Regions from separate parts of the Homo sapiens genome. Here regions 1, 2, 4, 5, 6 and 7 are each linked to region 3. The links are contacts of gene promoters, found by promoter capture Hi-C in blood cells and fetal thymus (Javierre and others, 2016). All regions are on one chromosome and are shown on one strand. Each heading gives the region's core, a stretch centred on a gene start or on the middle of the fragment in contact. The rest is flanking DNA. Distances are from core to core; before and after follow the strand shown.

The links. Contacts are between HindIII fragments. The CHiCAGO score rates a contact against its expected background, and 5 or more counts as called.
Region 1: a fragment that was not itself captured here is called in contact with the fragment with the promoter of SPOPL in region 3 in 1 of 17 cell types (naive B cells); the score reaches 8.0 in naive B cells.
Region 2: a contact is called between a fragment that was not itself captured here and the fragment with the promoter of SPOPL in region 3, in 1 of 17 cell types (total B cells). The highest score is 6.8, in total B cells.
Region 4: a fragment that was not itself captured here is called in contact with the fragment with the promoter of SPOPL in region 3 in 1 of 17 cell types (neutrophils); the score reaches 6.5 in neutrophils.
Region 5: a fragment that was not itself captured here is called in contact with the fragment with the promoter of SPOPL in region 3 in 1 of 17 cell types (non-activated CD4 T cells); the score reaches 5.4 in non-activated CD4 T cells.
Region 6: a fragment that was not itself captured here is called in contact with the fragment with the promoter of SPOPL in region 3 in 1 of 17 cell types (total B cells); the score reaches 6.3 in total B cells.
Region 7: a fragment that was not itself captured here is called in contact with the fragment with the promoter of SPOPL in region 3 in 1 of 17 cell types (neutrophils); the score reaches 7.0 in neutrophils.

Annotation. Positions count from the first base shown.
Region 1 is chr2:135,864,683-135,868,105 of GRCh38, reverse strand. MCM6 (minichromosome maintenance complex component 6) reads left to right here. Exons shown (of 17, transcript NM_005915.6): 5 at 1,378-1,543; 6 at 1,829-1,974; 7 at 2,943-3,093. Among named protein-coding and RNA genes, the nearest start is that of MCM6, 10 kb to the left of the region's middle. The HindIII fragment of the contact is 490 bases long and covers 1,043-1,532 here.
Region 2 is chr2:135,939,834-135,943,039 of GRCh38, reverse strand. The region is part of intron 5 of DARS1 (aspartyl-tRNA synthetase 1); the gene reads left to right. Among named protein-coding and RNA genes, the nearest start is that of DARS1-AS1, 44 kb to the left of the region's middle. The HindIII fragment of the contact is 2,684 bases long and covers 58-2,741 here.
Region 3 is chr2:138,499,934-138,503,243 of GRCh38, reverse strand. It overlaps SPOPL (speckle type BTB/POZ protein like), which reads right to left and starts at 1,474. Exons shown (of 11, transcript NM_001001664.3): 1 at 1,125-1,474. It overlaps SPOPL-DT (SPOPL divergent transcript), which reads left to right and starts at 1,549. Exons shown (of 2, transcript NR_187149.1): 1 at 1,549-1,925; 2 at 2,364-3,310. RefSeq lists silencers at 789-838, 1,039-1,578. The HindIII fragment of the contact is 5,215 bases long and covers 1-3,310 here.
Region 4 is chr2:135,776,550-135,780,080 of GRCh38, reverse strand. UBXN4 (UBX domain protein 4) reads right to left here. Exons shown (of 13, transcript NM_014607.4): 11 at 1,002-1,133. Among named protein-coding and RNA genes, the nearest start is that of UBXN4, 36 kb to the right of the region's middle. The HindIII fragment of the contact is 1,308 bases long and covers 1,332-2,639 here.
Region 5 is chr2:135,567,559-135,570,790 of GRCh38, reverse strand. The region is part of intron 1 of R3HDM1 (R3H domain containing 1); the gene reads right to left. Among named protein-coding and RNA genes, the nearest start is that of R3HDM1, 38 kb to the right of the region's middle. The HindIII fragment of the contact is 2,798 bases long and covers 582-3,232 here.
Region 6 is chr2:135,957,103-135,960,242 of GRCh38, reverse strand. The region is part of intron 4 of DARS1 (aspartyl-tRNA synthetase 1); the gene reads left to right. Among named protein-coding and RNA genes, the nearest start is that of DARS1-AS1, 27 kb to the left of the region's middle. The HindIII fragment of the contact is 1,818 bases long and covers 456-2,273 here.
Region 7 is chr2:135,883,924-135,887,035 of GRCh38, reverse strand. No RefSeq gene overlaps it. Among named protein-coding and RNA genes, the nearest start is that of MCM6, 9.0 kb to the right of the region's middle. The HindIII fragment of the contact is 4,028 bases long and covers 1-3,112 here.

The sequences.
Region 1 (3,423 bases), core at 38-2,537, 2.6 Mb after region 3:
AATAAGCAGTGGGAATATAGTGGGAAGGTAGTTTGTGTGTGTGGGTGTGTGTTTGTTTTGTTTTGTTTTTTGTTTTTTTTTGAGACAGTCTCTCTCTGTCACCCAGGCTGGAGTGCAGTGGCGCGATCTCGGCTCACTGCAAGCTCCGCCTCCTGGGTTCACGCCATTCTCCTGCCTCAGCCTCCCGAGTAGCTGGGACTACAGGTGCCCACCACCACACCCGGCTAATTTTTTGTATTTTTAGTAGAGACAGGGTTTCATCGTGTTAAACCAGGATGGTCTCGATCTCCTGACTTCGTGATCCGCCTGCCTCTGCCTCCCAAAGTGCTGGGATACAGGCGTGAGCCACTGCACCCAGCCTGTGTGTTTTTTTTTAAAAGCAAACTGAATAAGTCCGTGATGGGTTTAACAGAGGGTAATAGGCAATTTCAGTTACCTGGGCAAGAGGTGATGGATGGCAGTAGTAAGAATGAAGGGGACCCTCAGATTTCAGCAGGACTTAATTTTATGGGACATACAAAATGGAAAGAAAAGCTGAAGCAGCTCAAGTATGGAATAATTATTATCAGATGAATTTAATATTATTTATATTGCTCTGATAATCATTCTCCTTATTTGGCTTTCTTACATTAACCTGGTAGCTTATAAGATGCACATATTTTACCAACAGCTTTGGGTAGGAGATGTCTTATCTTATAAAGTATGAATCTAGATTGGGTCTTAGTTTGGGGGGGGGAACACAACTGTATAAAGGACACTCTTGACAAGACATTTGAAGATGGACTAGATAATAGAAGATATGTAATTTTATGAAATTAAATATTGTTTAATTATCTTGGTTGTGATAATGATATTGTAACAGGATTGTCTTTATTCTTAGAGATGAATGCTAAAATATTTAGGTATGAAGTTTCTTGATGTTCACAACTGTGTTCAAATACATAGTAAAAAAACATGTATCTGTAAATAATGTTAGCAGTTGTGTTGAAGTGGAGGGTATAAAAGGTGTATTTGAAATTTTCTGTAAAATTATCTTAAAGCTTAGGAGAAGATGGAGCATGGAACAGATATTTGGAGTCATTTTGAACAAAGAAAAAAATTATTTTTTAATGAGTAAAAGTGAAGTTTTTTTTTTCTCTGCTGCTTGAATCATCATGGAGTTTTTAAATAGATGTAATCTCTTGCCAAATTGAACTATTTGACTAAAAGGAGTTTTAGAGTAGATAATTTTTAGGATAAATGTTGGTACATGTGAAAAGTCTGCTAATGGGTCAGATAGTTTAGAATACGTCCGTATTTGTGGTATTTAATTTAGATTATATGGCATCTGAAAGGTATTGCTTCTCATTCTTGGTTGGTTGTTTGTCTGTATTACAGGTTCGTATTCAAGAGACCCAAGCTGAGCTTCCTCGAGGGAGTATCCCCCGCAGTTTAGAAGTAATTTTAAGGGCTGAAGCTGTGGAATCAGCTCAAGCTGGTGACAAGTGTGACTTTACAGGGACACTGATTGTTGTGCCTGACGTCTCCAAGCTTAGCACACCAGGTCAGTAATCTGTGGCTCAAATTTAACAAATTCTCAGTTACCTAAACTGCACAGTATCTAGCTTCCCACATCTTCATTGTCTTCTTTTTGGCTACCAATCAGAAGCTGAGGAACGAAGTGTGATGAGAATAAAAACAAATTGGTTTTGCCACAAATGGTGCTATTCTGAAAGTATTCAAGGCTTAAGTGAAGTCTTTGGATTTATAGCTTTCATTTATTTGAGCAATTTTGATGTTCAGCACCTTTAATATTTAAGTTGTGAAACAACCTATCATTCTGTTTCAGGAGCACGTGCAGAAACTAATTCCCGTGTCAGTGGTGTTGATGGATATGAGACAGAAGGCATTCGAGGACTCCGGGCCCTTGGTGTTAGGGACCTTTCTTATAGGCTGGTCTTTCTTGCCTGCTGTGTTGCGCCAACCAACCCAAGGGTCAGTCGTTTTGGGGGTTTTTGTTTGTTTTTGAAACAGTCTCTCTCTGTCACCCAGGCTGGAGTGCAATGGCAAAGTCATGGCTCACTGTAGCCTCCACTTTCTGGGCTCAAGTGATCCTACCATCTCAACCTCCTGAGTAGCTGGGATTATAGGTGTGAATCACTGCACCCAGCTAATTAAAAAAACTTTTTTAGAGATGAGGTCTTGCTCTGTTGGCCAGGCAGGCCAACAGTGAGTCTTAGTAGAGTGACAGCTTAAGAAACACCTACCCTGAGCTGCCACGAAATGATAGGATTCTGAAACATCTGGGCTGTCTCATCAATGTTGAGAGCACGGGATGGGGTTAAGATTTGATGAGTTTTAAAACCAAATCTTTTGACGTATGCCTTTCTGATCTTGAAAAAAAGTCTTATTTGATGTCTTACATAAAAGCTCAATGCTTTTAAGTGCAGTGGTACAAATTATCCACGCTGTTTTTTGTTTTAAAGTTTCATAGTTCCTCTGTTATTCTTCTGGAGGAAATACAAATAAAAAGATTTAGTAATCTGGGAAGTAAACTTCTGAGAATGATGAACCCCTGGCAGTATCATTCAGTTAACTTGATTCTGTGTCATAAATGGGAGTTTGGAAAATAGTTCAGTATTGGAAAAAGGGAGTGAACATAATATTCTCTTATTTTATTTGCATCTTTATGTCAGTGATTAACATTCTGCTATCGCTTATCTCTTGAGCATTCAGGTAGCTTTTTTTCTATTTAACTCACTGGACAAATGACATACCCTTAAGTGTCTTTGTTAACTGAGGGCTTACTAGTTTGGGGAGTTGTTTTTTTTTAAACCTTTACAGTCAATAAATTGTGAGGTTGACTTCCCATGCTATGTTGTGTTTGTAATGAAGTTTCTTCTCCTTTATGCTCTTTTGACTGCTTCTATACTAATGATTCTTCCTTTGTTCTCTACCATTAGTTTGGGGGGAAAGAGCTCAGAGATGAGGAACAGACAGCTGAGAGCATTAAGAACCAAATGACTGTGAAAGAATGGGAGAAAGTGTTTGAGATGAGTCAAGATAAAAATCTATACCACAATCTTTGTACCAGCCTGTTCCCTACTATACATGGTAAGAATTCCATCCATTTGTACCATAAACTTGAAATCAAAATAATGATTATAAACAGCCACAGGTGATTTCTGAAAGCACATAAATCAGACTGTGAAAGTTTTTAGTGGGTCTGAAAGAGGTCATTTACAAAAGGACAGGTACATGATTTCACTTATACGAGGTACCTGTAATGTGCAAATTCATAGAGACACGGTAGGATAGAGGTTATCAGTGGCTGGGGGAATGGGAGAAATGAGTTATTTAATGGATAAAGTTGCTATTTGGGATGATGACAAAGTTCTGGAAAGGGATAGTGGTGACAGTTATACAACATAATGTACTTACTGC
Region 2 (3,206 bases), core at 150-2,649, 2.6 Mb after region 3:
CAGGAGGGTTCCCAAAGGCAAGAGTGCGAAACCCTAAGAACAGACACTTTTCAAGCTTCTACTTGTGTCACATCTGCTAAATATTCCACTCGTCAAAGTCACACAGCAAAACTTAGATTTAAGGGGTAGAGAAATAGATTCTAGCCCTTGATGGGAGGAAAAGCAACATGATTGCAGGGGAATATACATGCAGGAGCAAGAGGAAGTATTGCAGCCATTTTTGCAAACAGTCTACCACAGCCACATAGGGAAAAATACAAAACACATCTGAAAAACTACTCACCAATATAAGTGAATAATAATGGACCTATCTTGCTATAAGTTTTTTGATGATGTACTTTTATTTTATTTTATTTTTCAGTTTCCATTTTTACTTTTCCTTTATTTTTATACTTTAAGTTCTAGGATACATGTGCACAACGTGCAGGTTTGCTACATATGTATACATGCGCCATGTTGGTGTGCTGCACCCATTAACTCGTCATTTACATTAGGTATATCTCCTGATGCTGTCCCTCCCCCCTCCCCCCACCCCACTACAGGCCCTGATGTGTGATGTTCCCCTTCCTGTGTCCAAGTGATCTCATTGTTCAATTCCCACCTATGAGTGAGAACATGCGGTGTTTGGTTTTCTGCCCTTGTGATAGTTTGCTGAGAATGATGGTTTCCAGCTTCATCCACGTCCCTACAAAGGACATGAACTCATCCTTTTTTATGGCTGCATAGTATTCCATGGTGTATATGTGCCACATTTTCTTAATCCAGTCTATCATTGATGGACATTTGGGTTGGTATCAAGTTTTTGCTATTGCGAATAGTGCCGCAATAAACGTACGTGTGCATGTGTCTTTATAGCAGCATGATTTATAATCCTTTGGGTATATACCCAGTAATGGGATGGCTGGGTCAAATGGTATTTCTAGTTCTAGATCCCTGAGGAATCACCACACTGACTTCCACAATGGTTGAACTCGTTTACAGTCCCACCAACAGTGTAAAAGTGTTCCTATTTCTCCACATCCTCTCCAGCACCTGTTGTTTCCTGACTTTTTAATGATCGCCATTCTAACTGGTGTGAGATGGTATCTCATTGGTTTTGATTTGCATTTCTCTGATGGCCAGTGATGATGAGCATTTTTTCATGTGTCTTTTGGCTGCATAAATGTCTTCTTTTGAGAAGTGTCTGTTCATATCCTTTGCCCACTTTTTGATGGGGTTGTTTTTTTCTTGTAAATTTGTTGGAGTTCATTGTAGATTCTGAATATTAGCCCTTTGTCAGATGAGTAGGTTGTGAAAATTTTCTCCCATTTTGTAGGTTGCCTGTTCACTCTGATGGTAGTTTCTTTTGCTGTGCAGAAGCTCTTTAGTTTAATTAGATCCCATTTGTCAATTTTGGCTTTTGTTGCCATTGCTTTTGGTGTTTTAGACATGAAGTCCTTGCCCATGCCTATGTCCTGAATGGTAATGCCTAGGTTTTCTTCTAGGGTTTTTATGGTTTTAGGTCTAACGTTTAAGTCTTTAATCCATCTTGAATTAATTCTTGTATAAGGTGTAAGGAAGGGATCCAGTTTCAGCTTTCTACATATGGCTAGCCAGTTTTCCCAGCACCATTTATTAAATAGGGAATCCTTTCCCCATTGCTTGTTTTTCTCAGGTTTGTCAAATATGAGATAGTTGTAGATATGCGGTGTTATTTCTGAGGGCTCTGTTCTGTTCCATTGATCTATATCTGTTTTGGTACCAGTACCATGCTGTTTTGGTTACTGTAGCCTTGTAGTATAGTTTGAAGTCAGGTAGCGTGGTGCCTCCAGTTTTGTTCTTTTGGCTTAGGATTGTCTTCGCAATGCAGGCTCTTTTTTGGTTCCATATGAACTTTAAAGTAGTTTTTTCCAATTCTGTGAAGAAAGTCCTTGGTAGCTTGATGGGGATGGCATTGAATCTATAAATTACCTTGGGCAGTATGGCCATTTTCACAATATTGATTCTTCCTATCCATGTGCATGCAATGTTCTTCCATTTGTTTGTGTCCTCTTTTATTTTGTTGAGCAGTGGTTTGTAGTTCTCCTTGAAGAGGTCCTTCACATCCCTTGTAAGTTGGATTCCTAGGTATTTTATTCTCTTTGAAGCAATTGTGAATGGGAGTTCACTCATGATTTGGCTCTCTGTTTGTTTGTTATTGGTGTATAGGAAGGCTTGTGATTTTTGTACATTGATTTTGTATCCTGAGACTTTGCTGAAGTTGCGTATCAGCTTAAGGAGGTTTTGGCCTGAGACGATGGGGTTTTCTAAATATACAATCATGTCATCTGCAAACAGGGACAATTTGACTTGCTCTTTTCCTAATTGAATACCCTTTATTCCTTTCTCGTGCCTGATTGCCCTGGCCAGAACTTCCAACACTGTGTTGAATAGGAGTGGTGAGAGAGGACATACCTGTCTTGTGCCAGTTTTCAAAGGGAATACTTCCAGTTTTTGACCATTCAGTATGATATTGGCTGTGGGTTTGTCATAGATAGCTCTTATTATTTTGAGATACGTCTCATCTATACCTAGTTTATTAAGAGTTTTTAGCATGAAGGGCTGTTGAATTTTGTCAAAGGCCTTCTCTGCATCTATTGAGATAATCATGTGGTTTTTGTCTTTGGTTCTGTTTATATGCTGGATTACGTTTATTGATTTGCATATGTTAAACCAGCCTTACATCCCAGGGATAAAGCCAGCTTAATGGTAGTGGATAAGCTTTTTGATGTGCTGCTGGATTTGTTTTGCCAGTATTTTATTGAGGATTTTTGCATCGATGTTCATCAGGGATATTGGTCTAAAATTCTCTTTTTTTTGTTATGTCTCTGCCAGGCTTTGGTATCAGGATGATGCTGACCTCATAAAATGAGTTAGGGAGGATTCCCTCTTTTTCTGTTGATTGGAATAGTTTCAGAAGGAATGGTACCAGCTCCTCTTTGTATCTCTGGTAGAATTCAGTTGTGAATCCGTCTGGTCCTGGACTTTTTTTGGTTGGTAGGCTATTGATTATTGCCTCAATTTCAGAGCCTGTTATTGGTCTATTGAGGGATTCAGCTTCTTCCTGGTTTAGTCTTGGGAGGGTGTATGTGTCCAGGAATTTATCCATTTCTTCTAGACTTTCTAGTTTATTTGCATAGAGGTGTTTATAGTATTCTCTGATGGTAGTTTGTATTTCTGTGGGATCG
Region 3 (3,310 bases), core at 225-2,724:
GGGTTTACACCCTGGCAACTATATACTAGTCTGAGCTCTAGAGAAGAGTTCTTAACCACTAGGCAACATTTCTCACAAGAATGATGAAATGGTAATTTGAAATATTCCACCAATCTCATCGTGGCAGGAGAGATGTAATTTTTCAAGGTATGAACCTTTTACCTCTGTCAGTTTCTAGTCCAAGAAACAGTGGATTCAATTGCAAGTGGGAAAGTGAGTACCACAATGGGTCAAACTAGGCCCAAGATTATTCAAAAATAGACAAAGCATCAGAAGCCTGGAAAGAATCACTGAATGACAGAGTTCAGTCAGGAAAGAGACAAGCGAAAGTTAGGATAAGCAGATGGTGAATCTTATTTCTACTGGGTTGTGTGACTGCTTTGAGAGAGAAAATGCTACCTTCCCTTTTCTTTTATGTTGAATCAATATACAAATACATTGACTCAAAAAGAATTAGGAAAAAGGAGAGCAGCAGGAATACAAGTGGGCTCTTTGAAGACTTGGACCCCGAACCGCGCGGTTAGCTTGATGTACTCTGGTATAAGTGAGCAAAAATGTATTAGAAAGCAGGTTAAAGAGAGGTTAAAGGCATGACCACCGGACTGGAGGTAGTGAGCGGTCTGCGAAGCTGAGAACTCTGCCTAAAATGGGCTAACAGGGACGAGAGTTTCAAGTGTCTGTATTTGGGATGAGGAGGTATGAAAGTGGACGCTGCGCGGTGGCAGAGCATGCAGTTTCTGCCTTTGGGCAGCACTCAGGTAAAAAGGGGCAGGTGTGGAGGTATACAGGTATAGAGGAGGAGAGAAGCCAGAGGAAAAGAAGGGGCGAGGCCCGGGGGTAAAACTAAAGGGGATCCTGGAAGGTGGAGGCTGGGAAATCAAGGAGGGATTGGGGGCAACCCCGGGGAAAGTGGTGCCGCCGCGCGAGGGAAGGGCGGTCCGGGGGCGTGGGAGGTAGTCCCCAGAGCAGGCCGGAGCTCGCCGCCCGAGCAGGGGTCCGGGACCCAGAGAGCAGAGGGCGCAGTGAGGCGCGAGCAGGAGGCCGCCGGTCTACGGAGAGCCGGGGGAGGGGAGCAAGCGCCTGGGGCTGCCGCGGGGACTGGGGGGAGGGGAAGGGGCGCCTACCTGGACGTGCTGGGCGGCAGCGGTCAGTCCTGGTGGAGACTCCTCTCCCGCTGAGGCGGTGGCCGTGTCCGCCCTGGGAGCCCGAGGCTGCGGTGGTGGCAGCAGGGGTGATGGCGGCAAGTCCCTGTGGCGGCCGCCTCCGCCGAACCGCATCCCTCCTCCCCGACCCGCCCTCCTTCCCTATCTCCCGCTCCTAAACTTCTTCCCCGGGATAAACAAACCCGCCGCCAGGGGCGGCCACCTCCGCCACTCCCGCCCCCGCGCAGCCCCCACCCCCCCGCCGCGGGCCCGTCTGGGCTCCGGCTTCCGAGTTACGACTCCAGCCCCGGCTCCAGCCCGCGAGGGCGCGTGCGCGCGGCGGCGGCGGCGGCGGCTCCTGGGCCCTTGCTCCCTCCTACAGCGCCGGGCACTTCCGGGCGGGCCCGGATTTGCCGCCGCGCTTGGGAAGCCGCCACCGCCGCCGCTGCTGCATGGCACTAGGCTCCCGGCGGGGCAGGTTCCGCAGCCGGCACCGCTCTGGCTAGGCGCACGGAGGCGCCTTGCTTAGTCTGACCCTTATTTGGCCAGGCGTAAAACTTGTCCTGCCTAAAAGCCTACTGAGACCTCCTAACTGGTCTAATCCGCGGGAGACGCCAAAGGCGGCGGCCGTTTGTGCGCACAGGATTTTTCTTGGAGCTGTAGCAGTCTAGGAAGCCAGGGTGGAACTTTTGCTAAGCTCCCGTTGTAAGCCCAGAGCTGTAATAACTGCTGAGACACAACCAGCAGTATACAGGCTCCAGTTGGAAATCGAGAACTTTCCAGGTAGATGAAGTGCCCCATGGAGCAGTTTTCAGGTGGAGGGGATGAGGCTCAGCTGGAAGTCTCAGGCCAGAAGGAGAGGCTGCCGAGGGGCGGCCAGGGATGCCTAGGAAGTGAGCGCAGAAGACCAGGCGGCCTCCTGGGACCGCACGGTGGGAAATAAAGCTGCACCTGCACAAATGTGTGAAGAGAGGATGGGATTGCCTTGTCTCTTCGGACATTTAGTTTAAAAAGGGGGTGACAACTGAACTTTTTATTCCCCACGGCCATGGGACAAAGATACTTAATCGAGCTACCAGGAGTAAACTTCTTTAAAGAAGTTTGGGGGACCAACAATCCCGGCTTTGCCAGAACAGACATGAACGTCATTCAAGGATCCCAACTCTTTTTGCTTTAACTGTGCATACGTCAGCAATTTTTGTTTTGTTTTGTTTTTGACAGGGCTGTCACCCAGGCTGGAGTGCAGTGGTGCCATCACAGCTCACTGCAGCCTCGACCTCCTAGGCTAAAGTGATCCTCCCAACTCAGCCTCCCGTAGCTGGGACTACAGGAATGTGCCACGCCCAGGTAATCTTAATTTTTTGTGGAGACGAGGTCTTGCTATGTGGCCCAAGCAGATCTCGAACTCCTGAGCTCAAGGGATCCTCCCACCTTGGTCTCCCAAAGTGCTGGGATTTGCAGGCGTGAACCACCACACCTGGCCATAAACCAACTTCTCATTGCTTACCTGGCTTTCCAAGAAAAGAGAGAGGGCAGAGGGAAAATATTTATTATTTTGCTATGTACTGAGTATTCTAAGCATGGACTTGTATCGTCTCTGTTCTCTCAACAACCTCTCTAAAACTTCAACGTAGAAATTTCCATCTTAAAATTAAGCGACAAGAACTAGAAATGGCAAGTAATTCATCCAGAGGTTACTGGGATTTGAATACTGGACAGGCAGATCCCCCTCATTTCAAATTAATACTACATTAGCTGTCTTTTTTATTTCTTTTTTCTTTTTGTTTGTTTGAGACAGGATCTCGCTTTGTACGCCAGGCTGGAGTGCAGTGGCGCGATCCTGGGTCACCTCCCAGATTCAAGCAATTCTGTGCCTCAGCCACCAAGTATCTGGGACTACAGGCGTGAGCCCGGCTAATTTTTGTATTTTTAGTAGAAACAGAGTCTCACCATATTGCCCAGGCTGGGCTCAAACTCCTGGCCTCAAGTGATCCTCCCACTTCTGCCTCCCAAAATGCTGGGATTAGCACCTGACCTTACGTTAGCAATCCTGTTGACTTATTTAAGACAAAACGTGCTTTAAGACAAAATCTGTGCCAAAGGTTTTCAGATAAAGATAAAATTAGCAATGTAACCATAAAATTCAAAGTTGCCTTGGGCTGAGTTGG
Region 4 (3,531 bases), core at 736-3,235, 2.7 Mb after region 3:
ATTTTAGTTTACTTCAAGAGGGTAAAATGATATCTTTTGCTGTTTTTCACGTATATATAAACTTCTGAAGACTCCCAGAAGTTTTTAAAGATAAATATACAATATTATACAATTGTATATAATTGTATAATAACTGTATAATTGTATAGTATACAATTATTTTATATATTATATATATTATATTTTATATAATATATTATAATTATAAAATTATTTTATATAATTATTTTATATAATAATTGTATATAATTGTATAATATTGTATATTATATATACAATTGTAATTTTATGTTATAATATTTGGAGCTGTGTTTAAGAGAAATTGTAATATACAAACTAGAAAGTAGTTCTCAGTGAAATGAGCCAACTATTTTTTAAGAATATTAAACTTTTATAAGAAGAGTCTTTCTTGCTGATTTAAAAAAAAAGGTTCAAACAATGAAATCCTGATTACTGGAGAGCTAACTGTTTTGGGGTGGAGGGCACGTCTAGTATAGAGCAAGGAAAACTATGTTAACCAGGACACAGAAGACCCAGGCTCTCATCCCAGTTACGGCAGCAGTCATTTAAGCTGTCTGAGCTTCTTTTCTTCACCAGAGATTAAAATATTGTTGTGCAGATCAAATGGGATAATCTGTTTGAATATTCATGTTATTTTTGGCAAACAGTAGAGCATATATAAATAAAAGACACTAAGTGTGTGGATTAGACAGATAATCTGCATTTCTTACTGTCTTCTCCTATTGGTCATTTTTTTTGTACACAAAAATATGTGAAGAAAAAAGTTAAAAATTAAACTGTTTCATGTCTCACAAGTAATATCAGCAATACAAATAAAGCACAGGATAATGGAATTATAAATTCATCTAATTATTGGATCACTTGAATTTTAATTACCTTCAGTATATCTGTGCACTTCCTTTCCCCTAATTATAAGAAATGAAGAGTATGATAAACAGAAAACAATAAGAAGAGAAAAAAATGCATCTGTATATACATACTGGCAACAGTACCACCGAAGCGCTTGGGGCAAGTTCCAAATCCAGTAACTTCTTTTTATAATCTTCTTTGGTAAATTCCCTCCTGGGAAACATGGTTGCTAACGAAAAATTACCGTAAGTGTTGCCAACAGTCTGTAAAATAAGTTTTAAAAACTTAAAGAGTGCCTTTAAAAGTAAGATATTACTCAGATGAATCCAAAATGATGCTTTAATTAACATTGCCTTAATTTTAAAAGTTCATTACATGTAAACTCAAAAAAAGGTATAAAATTGTGCTTCCAGCCCCTAAGCAGCTGAAAAGCTATCAAATCCAAATAGTTTTTAAAAGCTTCTGTAACTCAAAGATGACCACAAAATAGCAAAATATAGTTCCTAAAAACACACAAATAAATTGAGTAAAAATGGACAATTGTGTATCTCCTTTAAGTACTGTTGCAGTTCATCATTAGGTTTTCACTATCCTTTGGCAAACTTAATGTCTCATGAACACACATTTGGATTACAGGTAATCCCTATTAAGAATTTGGACTAGACCAGTATTTCCCTCATATATACCTTCAGGAAGTGTAGCCTCCTCCTTGTCTCAAGGCATAAATGGTCCATAATCAACCTACATGATACACACAATACCAGATCCAGGAACGTACAATGGACAGCACTGTAAGTCACCCTCACAATTTTAAGTCCTCTATATACAAAAATCACTTGTAAAATCTTAGACATCTGTGTATCTTTCCCTAGAAGATTCCAAAGAAGGAGACTAACTTGTTTTTCGTATTTTTTTTTTTTTACTGTAGATCACACATACCCCTCACTGTTCTAAAGATACACAAAATACAAAACTTGATAACTGTACTGAGGTGGAATTTTTGTTTTTTGGGTTTTTTTTTGTTTTTTTTTTTTTTGAGACAGTCTTGCTCTGTCGCCCAGGCTGGAGTGCAGTGGCGCGATCTTGGCTCACTGCAAGCTCCACCTCCCGGGTTCACACCATTCTCCTGCCTCAGCCTCTCGAGTAGCTGGGACTACAGACGCCCGCCACCACGCCTGGCTAATTTTTTGTATTTTTAGTAGAGACGGGGTTTCACCGTGTTAGCCAGGATGGTCTCAATCTCCTGACCTCGTGATCCACCCACCTCAGCCTCCCAAAGTGCTGGGATTACAGGCGTGAGCCACTGCGCCCAGCCTGTTGTTTTTTTTGAGATGGAGTCTTGCTCTGTTGCACAGACTGGAGTACAGTGGCGCAATCTCAGCTCACTGCAACCTCTGCCTCCTGGGTTCAAGCGATTCTCCTGCCTCAGCCTCCCGAGAAGCTGGGATTACAGGCGCCCACCACCACGCCCGGCTAATTTTTGTATTTTTAGAATAGATGGGGTCACCATGTTGGTCAGCCTGGTCTCAAACTCCTGACCTTGTGATCCACCCACCTCGGCCTCCCAAAATGCTGGGATTACAGGCGTGAGCCACCATGCCTGGCCTGAGGTGGAGTTTTAATAGGACACATGCAATCAAAGATGTAGTCCCTTCTCCATTTACCTGTGGCAAAAGCAGTGAAACTCAGGACAGGGGACACATTGTGGGAGGCTCCAAGACAAAAGAAGAATGAAAGCACCTATTTGGGACTGTTTCTACTATAAAGCTTAGGGGGAAACAGTTTTTAAAATAAACGTTTACATTGTCCAGCCTAGTTCACGAGTGCAAGAAGACGACCAAATGTGGAGAAAAGGTCTGGCGGAAAGATCTGAACCCAAATCCCTAATTTTAACCTTGAAATTATATATATGAAAAAAATACTGATACATATAATGAGCCTAGAACCCAAAGGACATCTGATGCTCAGAATCCGTTTTGAATAAGGAATCAATCAGGGAATAAAAATAAATTGAAAACTACTCATATCTCAAGATATATACTCCATTCAGATTCTGAGTAAGGCCACCTTTTGGAAGTAAATTCCTGAAGAAGATACTATTGTCAAATAAAGTTTACTGCCTCTTTTTCCTTAGCCAAAAGGTAAATCGTAGGAAAATGACCAGCCCCTAAGCAATCTGTAGGAAATGGAGAGAGGAGTGAGAAAAACTGCTTCCATTTCAGGGGAGTGGGACAATTCCCTCACATCAGACCTTCGGGAAATCACTTGCCTGTCACTCCTTCAATGAGTCTACTAATCAGTGAAAAAAGTTCCCAGTGGCTGGGCTGGGTGGCTCACGCCTGTAATCCCAACGCACTGCGAGGCTGAGGTGGGAGGAATGCTTGAGCCCAGGAGTTCAAGACCAGCCCGGCTACATGGTGAAACCCTGTCTCTACAAAAAGTACAAAAATTAGCCGGGCATGGCAGTACATGCCTGTAAGTTCCAGCTACTTAGGAGGCTGAGGTGGGAGGGTCGCTTGAGCCCAGGAGGTCGAGGCTGCAGGGAGCTGTGATCGCACCACTGCACTCCAGCCTAGGCGACACAGTGAGATCCTGTCTCAAAAAATTTTAAAAAAGAAAAGTTCCCAGGACCTATTATACAATATCAGCAAATTCCTACTT
Region 5 (3,232 bases), core at 731-3,230, 2.9 Mb after region 3:
AATTGTACATTTGATGGCATGTAAGAGCAACAAGGACTTTGTCAATACTGGCAAGAAGCTTTATTACACATAATCTCTACAACGAAGTCTGTGAATTACTTAATTTCTATCTTCTTGTGCTCATTTCTACAACTTTGGGAGAACTAATTTTTATCCTAGGTCCTCAGACAGTTGTAAAGGGGAACTGATTCTAGCATTAGGTGTGGGATGCACAATGCAATCCATAATTTGTTTTTCCAAAAAAGTTCTTCTTTCCCTTTGAGTATATAAACAAGTTTTCTCTCCTCTTTTCAGCTGCTAATTAAGTTATACAAAATAGATTCTTGAGAGGCTGAAGGTAACTGTAACACAGTCATCTAATCACTAACAGAAATCAAATGAAAGATTTTTTGTTTGCAAGTACATGGGCCACAAAGTAGAAGGCAATATTTGCTTATGTATTCCTACAGCATACAGACACATCATTACACATGGAAGATACTTTACTACCCTACATGACATTTAATACTGAGATAACTGAACTTGTGTAGCAAATGAAAGGTCAGAGAATTATTCTAGATGCAGTTGGTGGAACACAAGCTTAAGTGGCAGAAAATAAGAATAATTTAGTTGTTTAAAATTCCTCATCTCAAATATCCTAGTAAATAAAAGAGATGTTTACAATCAATAGTTAATTCAAAATCATCAGCTGAGGAAATCGATTTTTCTAATTCTTGAATGAAAACAACAAATGGATCAAGAGTTAACACTTAAAAAGAGCTTACTGGCCGGGCATGGTGGCTCACGCCTGTAATCCCAGCACTTTGGGAGGCCGAGGCGGACAGATCACGAGGTCAAGAGATCGAGACCATCCTGGCTAACATGTTGAAACCCAGTCTCTACTAAAAATACAAAAAATTAGCCAGGCATGTTGGTGGGCACCTGTAGTCCCAGCTACTCGGGAGGCTGAGGCAGGAGAATGGCGTGAACCCAGGAGGCGGAGCTTGCAGTGAGCCGAGACTGTGCCACTGAACTCCAGCCTGAGTGACAGAGCGAGACTCCCTCTCCAAAAAAAACAACAACAAAAAAAAAAGAGCTTACTATATGAAAGGTATGTTCTAAGCATTCCCTATGAGGCAAGTTGTACTAACATCCTAATCTCTGAGCTGGGAAAACTGAGACAGATAGGTTAACTAACTTGTTTAAGGTCACACAACCAGTGAGCGGTAGAGTCTAGTATCTGAAGTGAGTGGTCTGGCTCTATAATCCATGTGCTTAACTACTTTGATATACTACCTATTTCTCTGTGATTATGAATTTTTTTTTTTTTAGATGGAGTCTCATTTTGTTGCCCAGGCTGGAGTGCAGTGGCTCAATCTTGGCTCACTGCAACCTCTGCCTCCCGGGTTCAAGCAATTCTCCTGCCTCAGCCTCCCAGGTAGCTGGTACTACAGGCGTGCGCCACCATGCCTGGCTAATTTTTCTATTTTTAGTAGAGATGGGGTTTCACTATGTTGTCCAGGCTGGTCTCGAACTCCTGACCTTGTGATCCACCCGCCTCGGCCTCCCAAAGTGCTGGGATTACAGGCATGAGCTGCCGTGCCTGGCAGTAATTGCGAAATTAAAAAAAATCTTCTACATTCTTAATAGTTTTAACTGACAAACATCACCATCTACTCTGATTTATTCCTACAGAGTAGGGCAAATCTAGCCTATGTATTCCAGAATATTAAACCACTGAAACTTAAATAGGCCACAGTAAAAACTGCAGGACTTAGTAAGTGACTGGACTGGAGGAGACAGAGGAGATATGATGCCCAAGTTTCTGGTTTGAGTGACTGGGTATACAGAGTGAGAATTAAGATCAGGATTTCCTGAGGTGGGGGTGGGGGAGGAGGAAGTCTTCCCTTCGCTGTCCTCTTACACATTATTTGACTTTTAGGGCAGTGAAATCTCAAGACTGAATCGTTGGACCTCATCCACTTGAGTCTATTTCCCTTACCGGCCAAGTGACGACTCCTTATCCCTTTCTTCCGAGAGGTCACCAATACGCCCTATGAATAGAAGTGTTTTTTAAATGAAAAACTGTTTCTTTTAAAAAAGTATTGTTAAACTTGTATGAATACTAACTCTATTTCAAAGGTTAAAAAAACTGTGGCCAGGCCGGGCACAAGTGGCTCACGCCTGTAATTCCAGCACTTTGGGAGGCCAAGGCGGGTAGATCACCTGAGGTCAGGAGTTCGAGACCAGCCTGGCCAACATGGTGAAACCATGTCTCTACTAAAAATACAAAAAATTAGCCGGGTGTAGTGACGGACACTGTAATCCCAGCTACTCGGGAGGCTGAGGCAGGAGAATCACTCGAACCTGCGAGGTGGAGGATGCAGTGAGCGGAGATTACACAACTGCACTCCAGCCTGGGCAACAAGGGCAAAACTCCGCCTCAAACAAACAAAAAAACTGTGGCCAGGTGCAGTGGCTTACTCCTATAATCCCAGCACTTTGGGAGGCCAAGGTGGGCGGATCACTTAAGCCCAGAAGTTTGAGACCAGCCTGGGCAACATGGTGAAATTCCATATCTACAAAAAATTAGTGGACATGGTGGCATGTGCCTATAGTCCCAGCTACCTGTGAGGCTGAGGTGGGAGAATCACCTGAGTCTGGGGAAGTTGAGGCTGCAGTGAGGCGTGATTGAACCACTGCACTTCAGCCTGGGTGACAGAGTAAGACCCTGTCTCAAACAAAAAAACACAAAAATGTGGCCAGGCATGGTGGCTCAGGCCTGTAATCCCAGCACTTTGGGAGGCCAAGGCAGGAGGATCCCTTTAGGCCAGGAGTTCGAGACCAGGCTGGTCAAAAGAGTAAGATCCTATCTCTCCCCTGCAAAAAAAAAAAAAAAAAAAAAAAAGCCAGGTGTGGTGATGCACGCCTGCAGTCCCAGCTACTTGGGAGTGTGAGGTGCGAGAATTACCTGAGCCCAGGAATTTGAGGCTGCAGTGAGCTATGACTGTGCCTCTGCACTCCAGCCTGGGCAACAGAGTGAGACGTTATCTCTAAAAAAAATCAAAAATAAAAAAACAACAAAGGTAAAAATAGAAAAAATACCTACAGGAAAATCCTGAAATGAGAACAGTAAATGACTTGGGCATGGTTTACCCTTTCAATAAAGAAAACCCATAGTTTAAATATTTAATTAAAGATTTTAAAATTTTACTTTACTTTTTTAAAGGGAAGATAAAATAGATGCAACTTG
Region 6 (3,140 bases), core at 115-2,614, 2.5 Mb after region 3:
TTAATACTACTAATACAGTAGCCCCACCTCTCCCTATCTCCCAGTGCTGCCCAGAGATGACCACTTTTCTTCTACGTGTGTCTTCTGGTAATTAGGTTTGCTTGTTTCGTCTCCTGGTTAGAGTGTGTGCTTGTGGGGTGCATTTGTCTTCCAACCTTTTAAGGTTAGTGTGTATCCTATGAAGTCAAACATAAATGAGCTTGGTCCCTAGAAATTTTATCTGCACAGAGAACCTTCTATAAAAGAAAAAAAGATGGTCCTGGAAACCGCAGACATAGATGCTAAATTCTATTAAATATACTGAAAAATACTGGAAAAAAGTCAACCTCAAATCAACAAACAACTTTTGTATAATAATTTGGTTTTGAAAACTAATACATGAAGCCGACAGTTACATAGAGAATATATTTTTCCATTAAACTGCATTATAACCTCGGCGTTACATTCCTAAAGCTTCCAGTGGAAAAGCCTTTTGAAAATCCCAGTTACCCATAATATTCAGTGAGAGGCATTCTACTGACAAGTGGACGGTTAATCCATGTGATGTGTTTAGAAGCAGACACGTTAAAGTACTCCGCAAATAAGTTATTCCTATTATTTTGGATCTTCTCAGAAACTCCTGGGACTTGACTAAATAACAGCGATTGACTATATCAGATGTCAACCATAGCTTAATAGCTAAAAGAGCTACTTTCAAATGGTCTCCCAAACAGAACTTAGTTCACTAATGCCCTCATAAAATTAAAGAACATCTTTTTATCATTATTTTATTAAAGGCTTTCATCCAAATGGGATGATATACGGGCGATCTTTTTTTTTTTTTTTTTTTTTTTTTTTTTTTTTTTTTTTTTGAGACGGAGTTTCACTCTTGTTGCCCAGGCTGGAGTGCAATGGCGTGGTCTCCGCTCATCGCAACCTCCTACCCGGTTCAAGCAATTCTCCTGCCTCAGCCTCCCCAGTAGCTGGGATTACAGGCATATGCCACCACCATGCCCAGCTACTTTTGTATTTTTAGTAGAGACGAGGTTTCTCCATGTTGGTCAGGCTGGTCTTGAACTCCCAACCTCAGGTGATCCGCCCGCCTCAGCTGTTCAAAGTGCTGGGATTACAGGCATGAGCCACCGCAGCCGGCCATGGGTGATCTTTCTTTTAGACAAGGGAAGAATATAGGTAATTTAGCCTAGATTTTTTAATTCCTGAAGTGGAACTCCATAAGGATCTAGATGCAGTTCAGGCTTAACTAAATTGTGACTTGATTTTTTTTTTTTTAAGCAAAGGACATGCAGCTATTTTTAGTCCCTTTAAAAAATGGACTTTATATAAAGTAGCAATGTGTAGGAAAAGGTTGAGCTGTTCCAAATTATAAACCTTGTCACTGGTTATATGTAAGTGAATGGAGCCAATTTTATACAATAGGTTCAACATGTGGTACATAGATAACTATTATTAAACTTTTGGCACTAGCATGTTAAGGAATCGAGCCTGAATAATTACCAGTAGGTGGGTTAATGGCTTTTGCTATCTTGCGAAAAAGGAAAATTCTTATGGCTAAGACTCGTTGGCAAAAAATGATGAGTTTTTAGGTTTTGTAGTTGGTTAAGATAATTTTCTTAGGAACATGATTTTATGTTCCAGATGGGTCAGTCAGTTTGTCCTTTCTGTGTGATGTAACCTATACTTCTAAGATAGTTCAGAAATCCTGATCCTTCTTGGTAGGAGAAGTCTACTTTTAGACTTCGGCAAGAACTTTTTAGAACTTTTTTAGGGAAAAGATATATGGGGTTTTTCTTTGTCTTTTAAAATCCTTTTCCTAAAAATTGTTAACTGTGTTTTAGCGCATAAAATGGGTATGCGCTAAAATTGTGAAAGCAAAAATTAAGGTAGCTTTCATACATTTATCTTTGAGGTCACTTGTTTAGGCAGCAGATCACTAGTAGTATAACAGTTGGATGCAAGGAAAAATGTTTCTATTTCTAGTTCCAGTTAAGTTCAGATACTTGATAATTCATTTGATACAAATTTTAACTAACAATGCCACATTAACTTTCACATAAGTAAGACAGTTTTATAAAATGATTGACTGATACTTTATTTAAATTGTCATTCTTAGATTACTCTTTGCAGAATTTTGGTTAATTGTGAAGCTGAAATATCCTGACTCTACCTCAAAGTTAATGTTTTAGGTAACTGAACAGGTATTCTTCCCATTACTAGTATTGAAGTCAGAATACAGAAACAAATTAATTATGGAACTGGCTCTAAGGCTACAAGCTTTATAGAGTAAACCAAATGTCAGCAATTTAGTTTTAGTGAAATTAAAAATTAATATTACTTATTAATTTGAATTTTGTTTTTATTTAAAAATTTATTTCTATTTTAAAGTTAAGGGCTATAAGCATAAGCATTTACAGTAGTTTGGTATTTGTAGGTCTTTAAGTAACATGACAGAACTTATTTAAGTGATTAATGGGGTTTGCTGACATTTTTTATTCCACTAAAGAGAACCTATAGAGTAGTTTTAGAACTGCTGGTCTGTGCCTTGTTGAGTAGTGCATACTTCTCACCACGCTTATTTTGGATCAGCTGGGCATGGTGGCTCATGCCTGTAATCCCAGCAATTTGGGAGGCCAAAATGGGCCGTTCACTTGAACCCAGAAGTTTGAGACCAGCCTGGCCAACATGGCGAAACCCCATCTCTACCAAAAAAATTTTTTTTAAATTAGTCGGCCGAGCGTGGTGGCTCATACCTGTAATCCCAGTACTTTGGGAGGCCGAGGCGGGCAGATCACGAGGTCAGGAGATCAAGACCATCCTGGCTAACACCCGTCTCTACTAAAAATACAAAAAATTAGCCAGGCATGGTGGCGGGCACATGTAGTCCCAGCTACTCGGGAGGCTGAGGCAGGAGAATCGGTTGAACCCAGGAGGCGAAGGTTGCAGTGAGCCAAGATTGTGCCACTGCACTCCAGCCTGGGCGACAGAGCGAGACTCCGTCTCAAAAAAAAAAAAAATTAGTAGGATATGGCTGCATGCACCTGTAGTCGCATCTACTCTGGAGGCTGAGGTGGGAGAATCACCTGAGCCCAGGAGATCCAGGCTGCAGTGAGCTGTGATTGTGCCACCGCAGTCCAGCTTGGGCA
Region 7 (3,112 bases), core at 515-3,014, 2.6 Mb after region 3:
GTCTCTACTAAAATACAAAAAAAAAAAAAAAAAATTAGGTGGTGGGCGTGGAGATTGAGGCAGGCGAATCACTTGAACCCAGGAGACGGAGGTTGCAGTGAGCCGAGATTGCACCACTGCACTCCAGCCTGGCGACAGAGGGAGACTCCATCTCAAAAAAAAAAAAAAATCAGCTGGGTGTGGTAGTGCACACCTGTAATCCCAGCTTCTCGGGAGGCTGAGACAGGAGAATCGCTTGAACACGGGAGGTGCAGGTTGCAGTGAGCCAAGATCACACATTGCACTCCAGCCTGGGTGACGAGAGTGAAACTCCATCTCAAAAAAAAAAAGAGGCATAGTCCCCATGAGGTAGAATACAAGGGTCCAGGATACAAGAGGTGGAAGGAGTGGCCCTGCACACCATCTCTTCCGGTGATCCACTTGGGAAATTGGTGCTTCCTTCCCCACAGCTGCAGACTCTGTGGTTCTATATATCCTAGTTCCCACAGGTCTAACACTTGCACTAGGAGACACAAGAAGAGCTCCTTGAAACTTGAAACTGTCACTGCTGCTCTGCCATTTCAGGCTCCACATGCCTGCCGGCAAGCCAAACAGTCATAATATTAGTGGGTTTAACTGACCTGAGCAGCAAGAAGAGGTCAGGTATCTGTTATACAGTGGGAGCAGGATAAAGGTTTGACACCCAGGTAATCCAGCACTTCTCATACAACCACTAACCAGTTTTGACAGTAAAGGACAAGTATACCAGCCGTGGCCTAAAAAAGTATGGTGACCAAAGACTTAGGTCCTTCAGGAATGAAGGTCTGTGTCACTCCGCCAGGTAAACCACCTAGACTAGAAAAGGTGCTAGCTAAGAGGGGAATCTAGGAATGGGTTGTAGAGGAGGGAATCATGATCAGTATCAATTTTAGGCTCAAGTTCAGCTCCAGCTGCAACAGCTGAATTTCGTCCTATTAGCCTTCCTCTTGTAAGTTTCCTTAGGAAAAGAGGCCAACCAGGATCTTGTAGGTGCTGTTCTGAAATGCAGTCTTGTTACTATACAGAGCAGGTGCTAGGGTGGGCTCTAGTGGATGCCATGATGTGCAGCCCAGAAACCTACTTTAGTACCTCGTTGACTATTGACAGCTCATAGCTAACCTCTCTCCTCTCTCCCTAGGAATTACCCTTGACTAAAATAAGCTGGTTCACCCACATTTACACTACTTCCCCAAGGGCAGCCTGCATCCCATGACTGGTTGATGCTGGGTAAAAGGCCCAGCCCCCTTGCCTGATTTGGAGCCACTCTGAAGGGCTATCTGAGCTGCGGAGCTCCCTGTGGGCTCCACCGAGGTCTTTGTTGCAACTGCACAGCAGTTTGACTTCTACCTCTGCCCATTCATGCTCTCCCTGTCCCCACTAGCTATTGATCCCCACAGCACTCCCCAGTAAACCTGCTGCACACCGATATCCATTTCTGAGGACTAAGACAATGAGGAAGATGTACTCTCAGAGTGAGCACCCTTTGTGTGAAATGCAAGAGGAGAGAACACCCTTGTACAAGATACAATGGAACAATCCAAGAAATCCTGGTTGAGTGCAATCCACTGAACTGGACTGATTGAAAGCTGGTGAGGTGCCCTAGGAAATTATTAAAATATATGTAAGAAGTAAACATGGTCTCATTTTTCCCCTTTTAATTTGACAAGGAGAAAAATAATTGTAACAGCACTATCATATGCCGGTGAGGATGTGCAAGTTTTCTGGAGGATACTTTGGCAGATGTGTTAAGAGTATTAAAATGTGATTCCCAGGCTGGGCGCGGTGGCTCACACCTGCAATCCCAGCACTTTGGGAGGCTGAGGCAGGCGGATCACGAGGTCAGGAGATCGAGACCATCCTGGCTAACACAGTGAAACCCTGTCTCTACTAAAAATAAAAAAATAAAATTAGCCAGGCGTGGTGGTGGGTGCCTGTAGTCCCAGCTACTCCGGAGGCTGAGGCAGGAGAATGGCATGAACCCAGGAGGCGGAGCTTGCAGTGAGCCCAGATCATGCCACTGCACTCCAGCCTGGGCGACAGAGCGAGATTCCGTCTCAAAAAAAAAAAAAAAAAATGTGACTCCCCTTTGACTCATTAATTTCTCATCAAAATTATCTAAAGATTTAAATTTGTAAAAATATACTACATGGATGGTCTTTATAGTAATAGACGTAGCCATTAAAATAATACAGAAATATATTTATCAACTGAAAAGATGTTTATGATATACTGTTGAATTTCTTTTATTATTTATTTATTTATTTTTTGAGATGGGGTCTCACTCTGTCACCCAGGCTGGAGTGCAGTGGTGACTTCTCAGCTCACTGCAACCTCTGCCTCTCAGGTTCAAGGGATTCTCCTGCCTCAGCCTCCCAAGTAGCTGGGATTACAGGTGCACCACCACACCTAGCTAATTTTTGTATTTTTAGTAGAGACAGGGTTTCACCATGTTGGCCATGCTGCTTTCGAACTCCTAACCTCAAGTGATCCACCCGCCTTGGCCTCCCAAAGTGCTGAAATTACAGACGTGAGCCACTGCACCTAGCCTGAATTTATTTTAAAAGGAGCTTATACAATAATGAAATTCATATGAAAGGATGAAATTCATCAAAATATTAAATAATATTTCTGTGTGGTACAATTTGGGGTGGTTTTTATTCTTTTTGCTTTTCTGTATTTCTGCTTTCCTTCAATGAATGTATATTTTTTGCAATTTTAAATTATAATTTGCTATAAAATAAGAAATCAGTGATTTTTTTGGCCTCCCAGTAGATTATCTCTTTTTACAGTAAATATCCTAATTAGGATCCTTTATTTCTACTGTAACCTTGTACTTTGATTTCACTTTACACTTTATGTTTTTTGGTACAGTTGCATATCACTCTGCAAATTGTAGTTGTGTTCATATCCTGCCTCCACCATTAGGTTGTAAGTTTCCAGGAGCCCTATCCACAAACATGGCTGCCCACTGCAGGATACCCAGACAGTAGGATGGACTGAAGGACAGCAGAAGACTGAAGGACAGAATGCACACACTGAGACGAATCATATCATAGAACACGTCAGCCCTTCATTCTTGTTAATTAGGAACCTA